Regions from separate parts of the Homo sapiens genome. Here region 1 is linked to region 2. Evidence: promoter capture Hi-C in 16 types of primary human blood cells and fetal thymus (Javierre and others, 2016). All regions are on one chromosome and are shown on one strand. Each heading gives the region's core, a stretch centred on a gene start or on the middle of the fragment in contact. The rest is flanking DNA. Distances are from core to core; before and after follow the strand shown. Region 1 overlaps LOC124909441 (a long non-coding RNA gene). Region 2 holds the start of SLC25A36 (solute carrier family 25 member 36).

What was found. The method cuts DNA at HindIII sites, captures the fragments that hold promoters and counts their contacts. A CHiCAGO score of 5 or more calls a contact.
Region 1: a contact is called between a fragment that was not itself captured here and the fragment with the promoter of SLC25A36 in region 2, in 1 of 17 cell types (fetal thymus). The highest score is 5.4, in fetal thymus.

What each region holds. Positions count from the first base shown.
Region 1 is chr3:141,308,023-141,313,875 of GRCh38, reverse strand. LOC124909441 (a long non-coding RNA gene) reads right to left here. Exons shown (of 4, transcript XR_007096119.1): 2 at 5,469-5,853; 3 at 2,120-2,239. Among named protein-coding and RNA genes, the nearest start is that of ZBTB38, 58 kb to the left of the region's middle. RefSeq lists an enhancer at 2,047-2,236. The HindIII fragment of the contact is 5,733 bases long and covers 1-4,376 here.
Region 2 is chr3:140,938,051-140,943,799 of GRCh38, reverse strand. It overlaps SLC25A36 (solute carrier family 25 member 36), which reads right to left and starts at 1,964. Exons shown (of 7, transcript NM_001104647.3): 1 at 1,705-1,964. The coding sequence starts at 1,745. RefSeq lists enhancers at 811-1,040, 680-1,527, 1,621-1,990. The HindIII fragment of the contact is 2,098 bases long and covers 943-3,040 here.

The DNA.
Region 1 (5,853 bases), core at 261-2,760, 370 kb before region 2:
AACTTAGTATTATTGTGAAAACAGTTTTGACCTTGCAGATTCCCTAAAAGGATCTCAGGGATCTCCAAAGGTCTACCCAGGTAGGAAATGTGGTAACATGGAGCAACATGGGAGAAGGGACAGGCACCTCTGGGAAGCCTGTACTTCATGAAACTGTCTGTCAGAAGACACTCAGTTACCAGTGGTTGTAGCTCCCTAGGAGCGGTTGTGATGCAGGACAGGAGAGCCACAAAATGTGGCTTTTTCCTTGGCTTTGCCCAGTAAAGAATTCAAGGGCTAGCTGGTGGCAGGGTAGCCGAAAACAGCTTGATTGAAGTGGCAGTGTTACAGCTCCATGACTGATCCTGCAGAGCAGGACTACCCCATAGGCAGAGAGTAGCTGCTCAGGGCAGTTCTATGGTCATATTTATACCTATTTTTAATTGCATGCAGATTAAGTGTTGGTTTATGCAGAATTTTCTAGGAAAAGGGGAGTAACTTCTGCGTCATCGGGTCATTGCCATGGAAAGAGGCGGGAACTCCCGGGTGTAGCCATGGTTACGGTAAACTGACATGGCACACTGGTGGACATGTCTTATGGAAAGTTGTTTCTGCCTCATCCTTGTTTTAGTTCATCCAGTTACGTCTATTTCTCGACAGGTCCTCTAAGTGGCTCTAAAGGGGAAAGGTGAAAATATGCCATGGGGCCCATTGCTAGGGTCTGAGGGATAAGGCTGGGAGTGGAGGAAGTGAGGAAGAAGGCCGGCCACCTACAGAACTCAGGCATTTGAGAAGATAAGCTGGATGAGCCCAGGCCACAGGAAAATTATCTTCTTGGGAACAGAGGTGGCAGATCAGGAGCCACAGATCTCCCCGCCACCCCCCAGCTACTGTCCACGCCTGTCTCCACCGCCTGAAGCCCCTCCTCCGACAGCCACAGCCAGAAGTAGAAGAGCTGTGGAACTCACATGTAGGGCTCTGTGGGTTTGGCTCTTAGAGTCAAGATGGTCACCGCCTCCAAGCGGCAGATAAGCAATGCAGGACTGGAGATAAGGGCGAGGGACAGACCATCTAGCCACCAGCCTCTACCCCCTAGAGACACCAAGAGGTGGGCAGAGAGCAAGTACTGGCCACAGGCAAAGCCAGAGCAGGCAGAGGGAGTGTATAGAACACCCTTGACATAAGTAACTCCATCTTAGCAAAAGACTCCACTTTACGTTTCAAAAGGCATCATGCCAACAGAGTCCCGATGTTCGCCTAACCAAAAAAGAGTGTATCCAACCAAATACGGGCATAAACAGGCACACTCCTTCACTATCAGTCGTCACCAGAAGACCCCCGTGGCCATAAAAAGAGCAGGACTTCTCTAGCTCTAAATGGCCGTCTTAACAGACCCTATCTTGCTGTCGCCCATGATAAACACCCGGCATCTGCTGCCTAAGGCTTTGCCCACATCAAAGACTCTTCCTTGCAAGACATTGAGGCCAGGACACCTTGTCTCTCCTGGGACTAGTTTGTTAACCCCTTTTCCTATCTATCTCCTTTGCTCTTGATGTTAAATGTTACCCTGCTTGATGTGGAATATTTAATCTACAACATTTAACATGTTGACTAAGTAGACTATTTTGTATGCTTTGCAATACTGACTTGGTGTAGTGGCTGAAGCCTGTGTGCCTATGGCTCTGACTACGGAGTGAGCGAGTGAGCGGGTAGTGTTAGGGGAATTGCCTCCTTGGGAACTCCATGTAGCTCCTGGCTTTTATGACTGGAATAGCATCAGTAAAAGTCTCACCTGGCGGAAAGACACAAACGTGGTGGACCTGGTTCTGTCTGACCCTCCTTGCTCGACTCAACGACAGAGAATGAGCTGGGAATAAGGGCAATGCACAGCCAACAGCGGAAGGGCTGTGGCCAGGCCCCTTCCTTCCTAAGTCCGGGTTTCTCTGGCTCACGAACGACCCCTGGAGGTAGACACCCGGCGACACCGCCCACCGGTCTATCCCTTCAGAAACCCTGTTCCCTGCCCGGTTGGCCCGCCTTCCGCTTTCGAAAGCAGAGGCAGTTCCGGGGTGGGAACCGCGCGGAGCTTTCTGGGAAATGTAGTCCTTGTCAAGAGGCTTCTGGGAGTCGTAGTCCCTACCTGTTCTTCCGGCGCACGGCCTTTCCGTTTTCCTGTTGCGGGTTCTATCGCTCTGCGGCGTGGGAAAGAGGCGTGCGCGTCCTTGCGTGGTCCTGCTTCGACCTGTGGTCTCTCTGGCTTCTGGTCGGGTGGGGAAGGTTTATGGGGTGGAACGTGAGAGACAGGCTTGGGCACTTTTGCGTCTGGCAGTTAGGCAGCAGGTGGTAGTTTCCATGATGGGGACGCAGGGGCAGCGCCAAAGGGCCCCAGAGAACGAGGCATCCAAGGGGGAAGGGGTGTGGGATACGAGCCGACTGAGGGGAGACGCGCCCAAAGCCGGGGACCTCACTACCCCAGAGTCGACCTTGAAAGAGCCCTCGAGTCAGACTGAGGAGATGGGCAGTATCCTCCGACAATGGAAAGCCGTTGTTCGCTTCAGGGGAGACGCGCTGTGACCCAAAAGTCATTTTACCGTCATCACTATTGCTGCAGTTCATTCAGAAGGGTTTTGGGGGAGGCCATTGAAGGCTGAGCAGCAGCCCAGGGAGAGTTGATGGGGGCTGATGGTGGGAGTGGCAGCATGGATTCAGTGGATGATGAGGGATCAGGGAGTGGGGCGAGTTGAGGATTCCCAGTTTTCTGGTGTGGGCTGTAGGCCTGTCTGCAGATACTCTCACCTAGTGGAATTCTTTTCCGTAACCTGTCTTAACTTAATGAGAGGCTTGATGGGTAAATGGTTAAAGATGCACGTGCACATCCCTTCACCAAACCATTCAGATGCTCACACTAAACCCAAAGGCCACTCGTTCACTTATGCACACAGCTCAGTTATACCTACCCTTGTGAACACACCGGTATGTAGTACACACAGCCACATAACAATTCATGATCACATACTCCTGGCATCAAACAAAGGGTAAATATATCCATCTCAGTTTAAACGGCCTCTGCTATCTTGGGCGAAGTGTGACCTCCACACAAGAAGGACCCAGGTTGACTTCCTCAGTCCTCTCTGGAAACTTCAAACAGCTCAGCCTTTATCCTTTCTCTTGGCTACATCCACCTCCTCTAAGGTCCTCTGACTCTTCCTAGTCATCTTCTGCCACTCTGGCTTGATGGGAGGGAGATAGAAATGGGCTTGAATTCAGACAAGGGCTTTGCTTATCTGAAATGTGTTTGCTGAGGTTCTTATTCCCAGAGCAGTAGCTCTGAACATAATATTTCGTGTGTGCTGAATTCTGTTGAGAATCCAAAGAAAGTTGTGAACCCTCTTCCTGGATAAACACACATCTTTACATCCACACTGTTTTGAAAGCAAAATTGAAACCCATATGTCGGGCCCTGGTTAAGAACCTCACCAGAAGATCAGAACATCAGTTTCCTGATTGCCCTCTGTCTTAGCTCATTCAGGCTGCTCTAACAAAATACCTTAGACTAGGTAATTTATAAGTAACAGAAATATATTGTTTACAGTTTTGGAGGCAAGGAAGTCCAAGATCAAGGACTGGACTGGTGAAGGCTTACTCTCTGCTTCAAAGATGATGCTTGGGGCTGGGCGCGGTGGCTCACGCCTGTAATCCCAGCACTTTGGGAGGCCAAGGCAGACGGATCACGAGGTCAGGAGATCGAGACCATCCTGGCTAGCACGGTGAAACCCTGTCTCTACTAAAAATAAAAAAAAAAATTGGCCGGGCATGGTGGCAGGTGCCTGTGGTCCCAGCTACTTGGGAGGCTGAGGCAGAAGAATGGCATGAACCCGGGAGGCAGAGCTTATAGTGAGCCGAGATCAAGCCACTGCACTCCAGCCTGGGCGACAGAGCGAGACTGTCTCAAAAAAAAAAAAAAAGATGGTGCCTTGTAGCTGTGTCCTCACATGGTGGAAGGGCCAAAGGGCCAAGTTAGCTCCCTTCAATTCCAACTCCTTTTATAAGGCCACTAAGCCCATTCCTGAGGCAGAGCCTTCATGAATTAATCACTTCCCCAAAGGTCCCATCTCTTAATACTATCACATTGGGTATTAGGTTCCAATATATGAATTTGGGGAGATCACCAATATTCTGACCATAACACCCTTTCTGCAGTCTTCAAGTGGCTCAAGAGGGGGAGAAGAATAGGGTCTCAATCCCCATAGGAGTTGGAGTGTGAGGAAGGGGCAGCCTCTTCTCCCATCCATCTGTAACCCTTAGTTATGGAGCCAGACATCAGTTATTGTTGGTCCTCCACTGGGCAGTCAGTCATTCAGCTGGTTAAAGAGTCAGTTATGTAGTCAGTTTAAGCTTGTCAGATGTTTAGTTACCTACAGTTAGTACATCAGTAAGAAATCCAGTAGGTGGCCAGGTGTGGTGGCTCATGCCTGTAATCCCAGCACTTTGGGAGGCCGAGGCGGGCAGATCACGAGGTCAGGAGATTGAGACAAGCCTGGCTAACACAGTGAAACCCCGTCTCTACTAAAAATACTATATGTATATATATATATATATATATATATATGGTGGCGGGCGCCTGTAGTCCCAGCTACTTAGGAGGCCGAGGCAGGAGAATGGCATGAACCCGGGGGGCAGAGCTTGCAGTGAGCGGAGATCACGCCACTGCACTCCAGCCTGGGCAACAGTGCGAGACTCCGCCTCAAAAACAAAAAACCAAAAAGCAACAAAAAAAGAAATCCATTAGGTCAATCAAGTGATTTGTGTGTTTAGATATTTAATCAGCCAACCAGCCAGTCAATTACTCAGGATTAACTTTTCAGATAGACAGTGGTCCATCAGGATCCATCAGTCAGAAAGTCAATTTAATGGTCAGTCTGTCAATCAGAGTGCTAGTTGTTTAAAATGCTAAACACCTGGCTCATCAGTGGGACAAAAGGGCAGCTGGGGTGAGGCCATCTGGACACAGAGCGTGTCTCTACTTGCTACAGCTGGAAAATAATGTACACAGGTGGGGAGAAGATTTGACTCCTCCTGGGCCGCCAGAGGGAGCTTTGGTTTGCTGGGAAAGAGGCCTCACGTGGTGTGGTTGACAGGGAAAGAGGAAAAGCGGCAAAACGTGGGCCAGGCGGAGTTGCCACCAGAAGGTGGTGTGGCCTTCCTTCACGTCTCCACCCTGCATACTCCATCGGCTTAACTTTAGGCTTGAAGGAGCCCACTTCTGGCCGGCTTTTGAGGAAAGGCCCCTGGAAGGACTTCCCATCCTAGGGCGTACCTAATTGAGGCATGCTTGGCTCTGAGCTGGGAGGAAGCCAGCCGGCTACCCACCAGGAGAAGGACTTGCCCTCCCTGGTTGTCAGGGGCATGCCAGCCAAAGCACCGGGCAATGGGGGAAGAGAGGGAAACTGGGGTGGGGATGCTGGGGTATGGGGAAATCAATACCATACCTGTCTGCCCAGGAGCAAGGCAGGGAGCAGCTTCCTAAAGCTGAGGCACTGAGGGCAGGATCTCTGGTTTGTGGGAGTCTACACCATATCCAGGGCTACTTCTCATTCAGCTTCTCCAGGGGCCACACTTTGAGCCTCCATACTCCCATTCTTTTGCTGAACTCTGTGGTCAGCAGCTTCCTCTCAAATGAACAGCAAGTCCAACTAAAGCAGGAAGGATGGAAGTTAGACATAGATAATGAAGAAACAAGGGGAAAGGATGAACCCTCTTGGGGAATAGTGGAGATGTTTATATAAGGTTCCAAATGCAGTGTTGGGCACAAAGGCAGGATTCAGTAAATTTGAGTCCCCCCAAGGGAGGTGCATGTGGCCAATGCGTTGTAGC
Region 2 (5,749 bases), core at 715-3,214:
ATAAGTATGCCCCATTTTTAACTAAACTTGATACATGAATCCTGAACGCAGAATAATAGAAATGTTAGGAGCTAGAGAAGGGCTTTAGAGATCATATAATACAACCTCCTAATTTTATAGATGAAGCAATTGAAATAAAAGTGTCCATTTTTCACCCAAATTAAAATAGTGCTAGACTACATCTGCGGTCTCCTCACTTCAGGGTTATAGATCTAATTACAAGAGGGAGCTCAATTATTTGCATGAGATCTTTTCAAGAGCATCTACATAGCTACAGAATTTTTTTAAAAAGATTTAATTTGCCTGATTATTGGCAGTAAACATTTCAGAAATATGGAAAGCAAACTGCCTAAACTGGGTCTCACAGATCAATAGAAAAATATTGTTTTTATGCCAGAACAGTGGCCGGCCCATAATTGGTGTACAACAAATATTTGTTGATGAAAGTGTGCCAACCTAAAGAAAGTATTGCCATCACTGGCTCAATAGAGTCCATATGTCCAACTCAAAGCAAGGCACCGTGAATAGAACTGCGTGTGTATTTCTTTCATATTCTTAAAAGTCGATCTAAAAACTGCAGGATTTAAGAAGATGCCGGTAAGAGTCTCAGCATAATTCACCGAAGGCATTTTTGATAAGAAAACTCTTTATAATCCTCCAAATAAGTAACTCTTAAAATTGCTATGATTCTCCAAATGATTTAGAAGGAGCAAATCTAAACAGGAGGCTAAACTGGAAGCTCTAACACTCATTTTGGCAATCAGGGAACTAAGACTTTAGGCTTAGTCCTAATCTTGCACACACATAGTAACTATTAACACTATCTTCAAAAAATCTGACCTCTCTCCACTCCTACTTTCTCCTAAGCAGCAGAAAAGCAAGCGGTGTTCAAGAGGGGTGGTTTTCTCGAAAGGAATCTGACCCCAAAGGTACTGGAAAGCTTTGCACCCCATTCACCACCTGGAAAACCTCGGGCAAGAAATTTTCCAAGGGCTAGAAACACCCTACAGCAACCACGGGAGAATACCAAAGCCTTCCCCGCTCGATCCCGTAGCCCCCTTACCACCCACCTTGCAAAGCCGAGCCCGGAAATGAGCGGCCCGAGGTCCGAGGTGGGGCGTGAGTGACGTGCAGAGGCCCAAGCGAGCGCTGCAAGGAGCGAGGGCTAAAGGAGTCTCCGGCGCCCATTTTGTCCTCAGCCTCCGCACTTTCCGCCCCGTCCCCTTGGGCCATGCAACCTACGCGAAATCCGAAGCCAGGCTCCTCAAAGCGGCCCTGGATCCCCGACGCCTGCTAGATTGCGGCGTGCGGCCAGGTCCAGCGGCGTCCGGGTAATCAAGCGCCGACCCCAGCTCTTGCCCGCGTCTCCTCAGACGCATGGATTCGGCCTCCGCCTCACCCCGGCCCCGCGGGCCCAAAACCTCACTCCCGGCCCGGGTTTCATGCCTCAACCCTCTTTGCCCGGGCCTCACTCTCTCGCCCTCGGGCCCGGGCCTCACCCCCTTGCTTCCCCGAACCGGAGCCCCCCTCACCACCCACGGGCTGGGTCGCTCCCCTCACCCGCAGGCCCGTGGCAGCTCCCCGCCCAGGCCTCACTCCCGCCCCCCCACCCCCCCACCCCCCTCGGCCCCCCTCGCCCCCCTCGCCTGCGTCTTCGGCCCCAGCACCCTCAGCCCCAGTGCGCACGCCCCGCCAGGACCTTACCCTCCGGCAAACAGATGCACCAGCGTGTCCCTCTGGCTCATTCTCTCTCCCGCATGTCCTCCGGCCGCTGAGGCGGGACGCGGATCTGGCCGCCCGCTACGGCAGGCGGCTTCGGTCCCGGACTGGAGACGCACAGCGCCCCGGGGACGGCGAGGAGAGCTGGCCGAGATGCGGCTGCAGAAAGCAACCGGCACAGCCCTCCCCGCGGCACTCCAGCCGCGCCACCGCCTGCCTAAGCGCGCCGCCCTTCACCAGAGGCTGAAAGCGACGCAGCGCAGCGCGACGGAGAGTGGGCGGGGGATGGTAGGGGGAAGATGACTATTTGATGGCTCCCGACATAAACAGAGGCTCCCATTGGTGTGAGCGTCGTGACGTCACGCACTCTGCAGTGTTCTTTCACGTGATCCCTACGGGCTCTTTCAATGAAAGGGGCCGCGAGGCGTGGCCAGAACGCGTGCCCGGAGGGTGGTAGGTCACCGCGCTCCTAGCACCTGAGACCTGGGGCGCCCCTGGCCTGAGTGAACGCGCCAATCACGGCTGCACTCTCCTGAACAGGGAACTGGCGGGGCGGGAAAAATCGACTTGGTTCCGGGTTCGCAAGCGGATTTACTTTGAAAAAATTGGATTTATGACCCAGCAGTTCCCTTGGTGTCTATCTCAGAGTAACCCTCGCACAATGCATAAAAAGGTTTGTGCACGGATACTCCTATATAGGCTCACAAACAGTACAGAATTATGAACAATGCTTGCAGTTGCAGAAAATTGAAATCAGTGGGGGAATGAAGAAATAAATCATGAAACATTCCTACTATGGAATATTATGCAATCGTGACAAGGGATGAGGTGATTCCATATGGCAAAAAATCTCCCGAAGTGTGTAATAAGTAAAAAAGGCAAGTAGAATTAAAATACTTGGGTTTGTTTTTAAAAGAATAAAAGTTCATGGGAAATGGAATTAAAAGATAAAATTTAAAAATATAAACTTTGTTTTTCAACGTAAGCTCCATCAAGTTAAAGACAGTTTGGTAAGTGATGATACCGGCTCTTTAGTCCATCTGTAAAGAATTGAGGGTTCTGGGAATTTAATCATGAAAATGCAGGCTTTTTTACGTTATTAACTGAAGAAAAATGGGTGCCATTTACAGATTTTTCACGATTAGAAAACAAAAATATGTCAGAAGGAGCCAGGTCAGGAATGTAAGATGGATACCTGATAGTTTCCCATCGAAATCCCTGGAAAAATGCCCTTATTTAAAGAGAGGAATGAGCAGGAACATTGTCCTGATGGAGAAGGACTCTCTGGTGAAGATTTCGTAGGTGTTTTTATGCTAAAGCTTTGCTTCACTTTCTCCTATAGTAAGCGGATGTTATTGCTCTTCCACCCTCCAGAAAGTCAACAGGCAAAATACCTTGAGCATCCCAAAAAGCTGCTGCTATGACTTCGGCTCTTGACCAGTCTACTTTTGATTTGACTGGACCACTTGCACCTCTTGGTAACTATTGCTTTGATCCAGAATCATACTGAGAAAGCTATGTTTGATCTCCTGTTACAATTCTTCAAAGAAATGTTTCAATATATGATCCCACTTGTTTACAATTTCCATTGAAAGCCCTGCTCTTGTCTGCAGCTCATCTGGGTGCAACAGTTTTGCACCCATCGGGTGAAAAGTTTGCTCAACTTCAGTTTTTCAGTGAGAAATGTGTAAGTAGAACCAGTTGAAATGTCTATGGTGTTGTATATTATTTGTGCTGTTAATTGTGGGTCCTCTTCAATTAGGGCACACCGAAGAATAATCTTTTCCTCAAAAATCGATGTGGATTGTCTGCCACTGCAGGCTTCCTCTTCAACATTGTCTCATCCCTTCTGCAAACAAGTTATCCATTTGTAAACTTCAGATTTCTTTGGGGGAATTTTCCCCATCAAACTTTTGTAAAGCATCCTTGATTTCACCATTCTTCCACCCAATCTTGACCATAAATTTGATGTTTTTTCTTGCTTCAATTCATGCTGCTCTGATAGGGGCTGTTTTCAAGCTGATGTCTTATCCTTTTTAGTGCCTCAAACTAGATCTTGTTCAGATACATTATAACAAGTGAGTACGAATTTTTGGTGCAAAAAAGTTTGAAATTCATACATAGTTTTTTTTTTAGTTAGGAAAAATGTTTATATAAATTTAAATTTACATATATTCCATCCTTCTCTTAACTGAAAAGAGTAAGAAACTTTCTGAGATTTTCTTTGTTACCAGTTCCTTTTTTTTTTTTTTTTTTAATATACTTTAAGTTCTGGGATACATGTGGAGAATGTGGAGGTTTGTTATGTAGGTATACATGTGCCATGGTAGTTTGCTGCACCCATTAACTCGTTGTCTACATTAGGTATTTCTCCTAATGCTATCCATCCCCTTGCCCCCCAACCCCCGACAGGCCCCAGAGTGGATGTTCCCCTCCCTGTACCCATATGTTCTCATTTTTCAACTCCCACTTATGAGTGAGAACATGGGGTGTTTGGTTTTCTGTTCTTGTGTTAGTTTGCTGAGAATGATGGTTTGCAGCGTCATCCATGTCCCTCCAAAGGACATGATCTCATCTTTTTTATGGCCGCATAGTATTCCATGGTGTGTATGTGCCACATTTTCTTTATCCAGTCTAACATTGATGGGCATTTGGGTTGGTTCCAAGTCTTTGCTATTGTGAATAGTGCTGCCAGAAACATACGTGTGCATGTGTCTTTATAGTAGAATGATTTATAGACCTCTGGGTATATACCCAGTAATAGGATTGCTGGGTCAAATGGTATTTCTAGATCCTTGAGGAATCGCCACACCATCTTCCACAATCGTTGAACTTATTTACACTCCCACACTGTTACCCAGTGTGAAAGCATTCCTATTTCCCCACCTTCTCTCCAGCGTCTGTTGTTTCCTGACTTTTCAATGATCGCCATTCTAACTGGCGTGAGATGGTATCTCATTGTGGTTTGCATTTGCATTTCTCTAATGACTAGTGGTGATGAGCTTTTTTTCATATGTTTGTTGGCCACATAAACGTCTTGTTTTGAGAAGTGTCTGTTCATATCCTTCATTCATTTTTTGATGGGATTGTTTTTGTTGTTGTTTTGTTTTTGTTTTTGCTTGTTTTTTTTGAAACAGAGTCTTGCTCTTGTTACCCAGGCTGGAGTGCAATGGTGCAATCTCAGCTCACTGCAACCTCCACCTCCTGGGTTCAAGTGGTTCTCCTGCCTCAGCCTCCGTAGTAACTGGGATTAGAGGTGCCTGCCACCATGCGCAGCTAATTTTTTTTTTTTTTTGGTATTTTTAATAGAGACGGGGTTTCACTGTGTTGGCCAGGCTGGTCTTGAACTCCTGACCTCAGGCAATCCACCCGCCTCAGCCTCCCAAAGTACTGGGATTACAGGCATGAGCCACTGTGCCCAGCTGGTTTTTTTTTTTTTTTTTTTATAAATTTGTTTAAGTTCCTTGGAGATTCTGGATATTAGCCCTTTGTCAGATGGATAGATTGCAAAAATTTTCTCCCATTCTGTAGGTTGCCTGTTCACTCTGGATAGTTTCTTCTGCTGTGCAGAAGCTGTTTAGTTTAATGAGATCCCATTTGTCAATTTTGGCTTTTGTTGCCATTGCTTTTGGTGTTTTATTCATGAAGTCTTTGCCCATGCCTATGCCTGAATGATATTGCCTAGGTTTTCTTCTAGGGTTTTTATGATTTTAGGTCTTGTATTTAAATCTTTAATCCATCTTGAGTTAATTTTTGTATAAGGTGTAAGGAAGGAGTCCAGTTCCAGTTTTCTGCATATGGCTAGCAGTTTATTAAATAGGGACTCCTTTGCCCATTGCTTGTTTTTCTCAGGTTTGTCAAAGATCAGATGGTTGTAGATGTGTGGTGTTATTTCTGAGGCCTCTGTTCTGTTCCAGTGGTCTATATATCTGTTTTGGTACCAGTACCATGCTGTTTTGGTTACTGTAGCCTTGTAGTATAGTTTGAAGTCAGGTAGCATGATGCCTCCAGCTTTGTTCTTTTTTCTTAG